Linked DNA regions of Homo sapiens: region 2 is linked to region 1. Evidence: promoter capture Hi-C in human tissues and cell types (Jung and others, 2019). All regions are on one chromosome and are shown on one strand. Each heading gives the region's core, a stretch centred on a gene start or on the middle of the fragment in contact. The rest is flanking DNA. Distances are from core to core; before and after follow the strand shown.

Region 1 (4,277 bases), core at 618-3,117:
TAGAAGCTTCATTCTGAGGCCGAGAAGCCCGTGATGGAAGTTCTTAGGGGAGGTAGGACCTTCCTGCTACTGTACTCTCCTGCCTGGTAGGTGTGACTCTGGGAAGGCGGCTGCACGTGGGTTGAAACGTTGACACTGCCTGCACTTCCCCTTCTGGCCGATAGTGGGAGCTGCTAGCCAACCTGAGGCTCGTCAGGCGCTAAAGGCTGGCAGCCGACCTGTGTGGTCCATCCGTCTGTACCCCAGACACCCCACTCAACTCGGGGCCGGAGAGGCCCATGTCCTGAACTTTCCTGTGGACTGACTTTCCTACTGATCCCCTCCTGCAAGCAGAGCAGCCCCTCCGTATGTACCTAAGGCGTCCAACGAAGCCCCACACCCAGGTCGCAAACGGACGCTGTCCCCCACCCCCCTCTTTGCCCTCCCACCTCTTCAAGATCCCCATCATGGAGGAGCAGGTCCCAGCCTCTGGGCTCCCAAACCCAGCACCTCTGTGCCCTCTGAGACCCTGGCACCCATTTGGCTCTCTAAGAGCGGTTCTTGCTTTTGGGAGCCCTGAAAATGTGGCAGAAAAGTGTACCATCCCTTCCAATGACTGTACTTTTTTCGTGGGCAAAAGCTGATGGCCTGTTTTTTGTTGTTGTTTTGTTTTGTTTTTGTTTTTGTTTTTAGAAGCGCAAGATTTATTGTGAAGAGGGAAAGAACAAAGCTTCCACAGCGTGGAAGGGGACCCAAGCGGGTTGCCCTGATGGCCTGTTTTGTTTAAACAAGAAGTGTGTCCCCATAGGTCCTGGGCATGGGCATGGGAGCAACTGTTTGTCAGCGTATGTCTCCGTGTGTGTGTGCCTGTGACCATGTCTCTGAGTGAGAAACAGTGGGTGTGTAAGTATGTGACTCCAGGCTCTGCATGTGTCAAGGTGAAGGTTGTATGTGGCTCAAGAGGGTGGAAGTATATATATAAAGAGGTATATACATGTATATATATGTATGTGTGTGTGTGTGTTTGCGCGCGCGCGTGTGTGGGTGTCTCTGTGTTGGTTGCCTGCTTGCTTCTGGGTCTGGGTGTGTGTTTGGTTCTGTCAGCATGTGCGTCCGTGTGTTCAGGTAGATGTGTACCATTGTGCAGATTTCTGTGGCATCACTAAGTGTGTCTCCAGGAAAGTGTGGTTCGAGTGAGTGTGTGTGTCTCTGTGTCAGTGTGTCAGTGGATGTGTGTCTAAGTCATGTGGGTGTCTAAGTTTGTCAGAGTGTCTTCCTCAGTGTCAGTGTGTGTCAATGATGTGTCTGTCTGTGTCTGTGTGGGTGTGTGGGGGTGTGTATCTGTCTCAGGGTGCATGTGTGTGTCTGTGTCAGTGCAGGTATGCCTATGGCAGCGTGTGTCTGTCTCGGCATGAGTGTCAGTGTATGCCCGTGTCCACGTGGGTGGGTGGGTGTCTGGTAGCCTTCCCAAGTCAGCAAGGTTGCGTGTGTGTGTGTGTATACTCTGGCGGGTGCTGGTGTGTATGCCAGTGTTTGTTAATGTGAGCCTGTCCGCGTCCGCGTGGGTGGCCATCTGTGGTGAAGCGTCGCCGGGTCGCCGTGTGTGTACCCCCGCCTATGTCTGTCTGTCCGCGGCCGCGTGTGCGGCTGTCTGTGGCTGTGAGCCCCCGGGTCAGTGTGGGAGTGTGCGCCCCGGCGGGCGCTGGTGTGTCCCCCCTCCGAGCGGGCGGAGCACCACGTGCGGAGCCCTGGGCGCGTCGCTCTGGGGCGGAGCCAGCCCGGGGCCCCAAGCCCCAGGCCGAACCCAGGCGGGGCCCGCCCCGACCCCGCCCCCGACCCCGCCCCCAGCCCGAGCCCGCGCCGCCTGCCCAGCCCGGGAGCCCGAACAGAGCCGCGGAGCCGAGACGGCGGCGGCGCCCGTAGGATGCAGGGATCGCTCCCCCGGGGCCGCTGAGCCTGCGCCCAGTGCCCCGAGCCCCGCGCCGAGCCGAGTCCGCGCCAAGCAGCAGCCGCCCACCCCGGGGCCCGGCCGGGGGACCAGCAGGTGAGCGAGTGCCCCCGCGCCCGGCAGCCCTGGCCCGGCCGGAGCCCCCTCCGCCTGCCGCCGCCCAACTTTCCTCCCCGAGGGCCGAAGCCTCCAGTCCCTGCGTGCTCCTCCCTGCCCCGGGTCCGCCCAGCCGCTCCCTCCCCGATCAGTGCCCCAGAGAGCCGGAGGGGGAGAAGGGGCGCAGATCCGCCCGGCTGGAGGGTATCCCCGGGGGAGACGTCTCTAAACACCGTGCGCCCCCCTTCCCTTCCCTTTCCTTCCGGGTTTCCCGGTGCGCTGTCGAGGGCCGGGGGAGGGGGAGCTGCGGCCCCAGCTTCCCGGCCATCCCTGGCGCAGGCTCGGGGAGGGTCTGGGATTGGGACCCGGATACCGGAGGCCGGAGACCCCAAGGTCAGAGCGGCGACTAGGCGCGCCATGAATGTGGTTCCAGAGAGCGGGGTTTGCGGGGGCTGACCGAGCAGGGCTGGATATGGGGGAGGAAGCCACGCACCCCCTTTCTCTGGGCCCAGGGGGAACCGTCCGCTGGGGCTGTCCTCTCTGTGGGACGAGATCTCTGCGCGTTTAGACCATGTAGAGATCTCGGTGCCCTTTGACGCCCTAAAGGGGCCGCATCTCCTCTGTCTGATCTCTGTGCTTCTCGAAGGGGTGGAGATCTCTTTGCGGTGAGATTGGAGAGAGTTCTCTGCCCTCCTCTCTCTGAGCCGGAACAGATCCACGCACCCTGATGGGAGGTGGCTCTCGACCTCTGTGTTATTTGATCGTCTTTGGTGGCGCTCTGGAAGAAAGTGGAGGTGCCAAGCTTTGTCCGAGAGGCCAAGAGCTGGTGGGGGCCAGAGGTGTGGGGACTGTTAGTGGTGGTGATGAGGATGGGGGGAAATGATGTTGGGGACAAGTCCCTGGCTGTAGGCCTGCCTTGCAAACACCTGTTGGAGAGCAGAGCACAGCCAGATCAGGATGCCATGGCTAAGATAGTGCAGGACTCACTCTTGTGCTCCTCAGTGCCTTCAGCCCAGCCCCGGGCCATGGGATCTATCTCCTCTTAAGGTCCTGGGCCTATGTTCCATTCCCAGGCATCTGCTCGCCTCCTGCTGAGACCCCAGGTGTGTCTCCCAGTGAGCCTAGGCAGTATCATCCAGATGGCAAACCACGTGACCCCCACCATGCCATGGCATCCCAAGCCCTCTCCCAGGTTCCCACCATCCTTCAGGATCTAGTGGGACCGTGAGCAGCAGAGGCCCCAGCTACTGGGGGCCCAGGCCATTGCCGCTGCCCTCAACTCCATCTGTTTGACCTCATCTCCACTCAGTTAGAATTGGGCAGGTGCATATGAATCGGTGGTAATGAGTGCGAGGTGGAATGAGGGTGGTCAGGCTGCTGTTGCAGGAGCATGGAGAGGGTGAGGTCAGGTGACAGCCAGGGTGTGGAACACAGATTCTATGTTACAGTGTCCAGCTCTGTGCTGAAAAGAGCCTCATTAAACTTTTAATCATGTCATCACTACCATATCATACAAGTGGGGAAACTGAGGCCCAGAGGAGCTCAAGGACTTATTCAATGTCATCTAGAGAATCAGTGGATTGGGGGCACCACGCAATGTGAAGACACCTTGAGATCTACTTTCTGTGGGGCAAATAAGCCTAGAACTGAGCCAGGAGGATCTGAGCAGAAGGGGAACTGGCCCTGGGGTGCCAAGAGCCAGCATTCAGCCCAATGTGGCAAGGGCAGCTGCTGTGCTCCAAGGTGCTCGGCTCCCTCTCTGTGTGTTGATCAAAGCTCCTCTGGAAAAATTCTAGTATTGACTCACTCAGCATGAAGATTGGGCTTGGAGGACTAGTGGGAAGCACCAGAGACAGCTGGGGATGGGAGAAGAGCGGAGGCTGGTGCCCAGGCAATCCAAAGAGAAGGGAGTCCTGAGGGCAGCCAGGGACAGTGGCAAATTGCAGTTTGTGTTCTGTTCAGAGGAGGCTGGCTTATGCTCACTCTTGGGAAGGTTATTGGAAGGGTGTGCAGTGGTAGAAGTGTGTCCCCAGAGCCCATTCACAGGAGAGGTGGTTACCTTTGGCCGGAATAGTCAAGAATCTTATTCTAACAAAAATAACCTTCCACACTGGGTTTTGAAGGGTGAATAGGAGTTTTCCAGGCAAGGACAGTGCAGTCTAGCTGTCAGGACCAGTATGTACAAAAGACAGAAAAGTGAAACAGCACAATTATTAGTTGAGTGATTCGTTGGGCCCCATGGTGTGAGGAAGAG
Region 2 (4,277 bases), core at 613-3,112, 51 kb after region 1:
GCTATTGCATGCTGAACAGCTCAGCACCTGGGCCGTGGTCATGCAGGGCCCTGCTGAAGTGAAGGCTTTATTGGCCCTCCTTGGTTCTGTGGGAGGCTCCAGGTAAGCCTAGAGAATGCCTGCCTGCCACCTCCCTTCACCAGGGCTGTTTCCAGGCCTGGGTTTTTTACTGATAAAAATGGTGCATGCATGGTGAAAACAAACCCCACAGTGCAGAAGTACATGAAGTGAAAAGGGAACTTCTCCCTCTTTTTCCCCTCCCCCACAATCCCATTCCCCAGATATGTCCACTTTAATTATTTGGTATGCATTTTCCAGATCTTTTTCTTGTTTTTTCATCAAACTGTTTGTCTTGGAGATGTCCGCATGGGAGCATCCAAAGAACTGCCTCGTTCTCTTTGTTGTCTATCAGAGCCCAGAGTTGGACTGTGTCTATAATTGATTTGAATATGGTTGCTATTGATTGGTGTTTTGTTCTTATGGTATTAGGAACACTGCTGCAATGAACATCATTTATGTGTATTTTTGATGCACATGTGTAATTATTTATGAAGTTAGATTACTAGACGAGGACTTGAGGGCCAATTTAAAATTTTCTTGGTAAATCCAGCCTAACTGCCTCCACAAAAGACACAGCCCCCCACCAGCCATATGTAAGCATTGTACTTTATCCTGCTATTAGCATTATCTTAGAGCATGTTAGATTTTTTTTTCAGCTTCTTTATGCTCTTGACGCTAGGAAACTTGTGGTCAGTTAAGACTCCCAGATCATTTTTGCATGTACTAATGTGTATGGCAGCATCAGGCTCAGGGAGGACCTGTGATATGTGTAGCTTCCTGACCACACTCAGGAATCACTGCTGATGAGAGGCAGTGAAGAAGAAAGGAGAATGAAGGAGACAGTGATTGGGAGGAGGGGTGGAGGGAGTTCTTAACTGGGAGGGAGTTGGGAACAGAGAAGCCCAGCATCCAGTGTCCCATCAAGACCTTCATCCTATCCCTGTGGCATCCCCAGCCTGAGTCTGGACCGGCCTCCCCAGGTCCAGCAGGACAGGAGCTGGGGGCAGGACCCTTTTCCCCAGGCTGACGCAAATCTCCTGATTGCACTCAGACCACGCCATCGGAGGAGCCAGGCGGGCCCCAGATGCTGACCTCCCAGGCTCCGTGTGTAGATGGCTTCGAGGAGCCAGGAGCACGGCAGCGGGCCCTCAGCGCAGTCAGCGTCCTCACCAGCGCACTGGAAGGTCAGCAACCCCAGGTCATTTAAGCACCCCCCACTTCCGCTGCAGGTACCCTCATCTTTATCCCAGCCTGACCCAGGCATCCCCCATTTGTCTTGGCCTGCTTTAGACATCCCCACACTGTCCCAGCCTTCTCTGTTCTGTGTAGCCTTGCCTGTCCTTCCATGTCTTTTCATCTGTTTCAGCTTGTTCTCTCCTGGGTATCACCATGCCTGTGTTTCTCCCAAATACTCCCACATCTGGCCTGTCCCAGATGCTTGTCAGTCTCATTCCATCATCTCCCAACCATAACCATGTCTATCTAGGACCATCCTGTCCTGAGCATACCCATGCCTGTTCTAGCTATTCCCATATCTACTTCAGACTATTCCAGGCATCCTACATCTTTCCCAGCCATTCCTGCCCTAGGCAACTCCACATCCCTTCCAGTCTGAATGGGGCACCCCCCATCCTGATCTTGTTCCCTCCTATCTCGGATGTATTCTCATCTTTTCCAGCCTGTCCTTGGCATCCCCTCTCCCATTTGTCCTGACACATCCCAGATGTCCACATCTGTCCCTGCCCATTCTGTCCCAGGTGTCCTCGTGTCTGAACTTGCATGTCCCCATTACTGTCTCATCATTTTCAGCCTGTCCTCCCCTGAGTGTCCCCAGGTCTATGTGGGACTGTTGTCTTAAGCAGTTGTACGTTTGTCCTGATAATCTCTCCTGTCCCCATTTTCCCCACCTCCATCTTTGTTTCCTGTCCCTATGGACCTCTTCTCTCATATTTCCAGATTAAGGAGCCAGGACACAGGCCACCCACTCCCTTGGCCTTCCCTGCTCCCACTGTCCCGCTGTCACCTAGCAGCCCTGTCATCTCCCAGAGCAAGTCATAAATCTTTCCTGGAAGGTATTCCAGTTACATATGACTCAGTCAACAGAATCAAACTAACTCATTGGCTGTCCCCTCAGAGTTAGAGGAGTCTCGCCACAAGTGTCCACCATGCTGGAACCGTCTCGCCCAGCGCTACCTGATCTGGGAGTGCTGCCCGCTGTGGATGTCCATCAAGCAGGGAGTGAAGTTGGTGGTCATGGACCCGTTTACTGACCTCACCATCACTATGTGCATCGTACTCAACACACTCTTCATGGCGCTGGAGCACTACAACATGACAAGTGAATTCGAGGAGATGCTGCAGGTCGGAAACCTGGTAAGGGCTGCCTGCAGCTGGCTCTCAAATGGGCATCCTGGCAGGAGGGGACCTCGGGCAGCTGGCACAGCCTTCATGGGTAAGGAAGAAGGGATCCTGCACACAGAAGGATCTTTTGAGGGTGGGAATCATCATAGAGGACATCTTGGAGGAGGGAGGGAATCTCAGGGTCGGCTTCTAAGGAGCTGAGAAATGTAGATTTGGAGTGGGAGGGTGGAGTGAAAAGAAGTTTATGCAGATGCCCAGAATCTAGAAAACAAAAGTGAGCTGGGGGTAAACCTGAAATGTGTGGAGACTTGAGATTTTGTAATTTGTAGGTGGAGGAGAATGCGTGCAGAAGGAAGTAGTTCTCTTATGGACGGAGCTTGCATCAGTGTTGTTGGATGGGGGAAATTGTGGATGGATGGTTGGATAGAAGGAGGGAAGGATGGAGGGATGGATGGATGGATGGATGGATGGATGGATGGATGGACAGATGGATGGATAGCTGGGTGTAGTAAGTAAATCAGGCAGAGCCAGATTTGAATTCTGACTCAGCTCTTACTAACTAGCTGATCTCAAGCAGTTTACTCAGTAATTGGCCCAATAAATATTTGTTGAATTCAATAAATGTGAAATTAGTATGACAATATCAACCTCATAGGAAGGTAATGAGGACTGTATAAGATAATGTGTATAATATGCTTGGCTCATAGATTGATAAACAGTAAGCACTCAAAACAAATGATAGCTGTGCTATTGTTGTTGTTGTTAGACTGCTCCTGGAAGTCAGAATGTCTGGATTCTAATTCTGATTTTTTTTTTCTTGATACCAAATCAAGTCCTGCCTCTTTATTATACAGATAGGGAAACTGAGGCCCAGAGACAGGAGGGATGACATGGCAGGGGCAGAGTTGGTCATCTCTCAACTCCCAGGACAGGGCCATATTGGATCAGTCGAGGTAAACAGAGTCAGCCCATCTTTAGAGGATCCCAGGGCAGAGTTGCCATGATCCCACTGGCCTTAAAAAGGAGCTTGTGAGATCATCATCGAGGCTGGTGTGGGGGTGGTAGGGGGACTTCTGGCCCCATTTGATCTAAGCTTGTTCTTACTGAAGACCCAGCCTGTCTCAGGCCCAGCTGTTCAAGTGACCCCCCATAGGCAGGTAGGTCTCTCACACTGTGGGGTAGGAGGATTTTCTTTTCTTCTTACTTTCCAAACCCAGGACTCTAGGTAGTTCTCTGCAGGGCCTATTCAGATTTTTTCACCAATTTGAGTCAACTTGCTGTAATTTTACTTTTCTTTCCTTCTATGTGCAAACAGAAGGCAAAGCTACATCTCAGTGGGTAGAAGTCTCATGGCACTGTTGGAAATGTTGGGTGGTCTTCAGATGGTAGTTATGCAGGGTTTCAGTTGAGTGTGTTTTTATCAGGTTGTGACCATTGGGTTGGACTGAGCAGCAAGTTAGGTGTGATGAACAGCACTGGTGGCTTCACTGGGTCAGCAAGTTGTAGCTGAACTGCATTGTACTAAACTTGTCGTTAAAATATTGATAACAGGCAATGTAGTTGTGTTATAGCTATATTTTGTTCTGTTTGAATAGCTTTATTACTAATATGTAAGGTTTTGATTTTATTGCATTTAATATATTCTAGGTAGTTTAAATATTAAGTGTTAAGAAACAAAACCATAAAAATAAGCATGAGTAAATAATCAGCATGGGAAAAGCCTTTCTAAGCATGTCTCTGAAGACAAATTCCACAAAGGAGAAGACTGATAGATTTAGCTAACTTTTTAGCCCATCACACAAATAAAAGTAAAAGGCAAATGAAACTTCTGTTTCCAGCAACATTATGGACAAGAA

What was found. Contacts are between HindIII fragments. The study calls those that stand out against the background at their distance.
Region 2: a contact is called between a fragment that was not itself captured here and the fragment with the promoter of SCN5A in region 1, in 1 of the 25 tissues and cell types used here (H1 embryonic stem cells).

Annotation. Positions count from the first base shown.
Region 1 is chr3:38,647,277-38,651,553 of GRCh38, reverse strand. SCN5A (sodium voltage-gated channel alpha subunit 5) reads left to right here and starts at 1,867. Exons shown (of 28, transcript NM_000335.5): 1 at 1,867-2,023. RefSeq lists a silencer at 1,749-1,908. The HindIII fragment of the contact is 3,470 bases long and covers 359-3,828 here.
Region 2 is chr3:38,595,885-38,600,161 of GRCh38, reverse strand. It overlaps SCN5A (sodium voltage-gated channel alpha subunit 5), which reads left to right. Exons shown (of 28, transcript NM_000335.5): 13 at 1,112-1,244; 14 at 2,195-2,433. Among named protein-coding and RNA genes, the nearest start is that of SCN5A, 52 kb to the left of the region's middle. The HindIII fragment of the contact is 8,541 bases long and covers 1-4,277 here.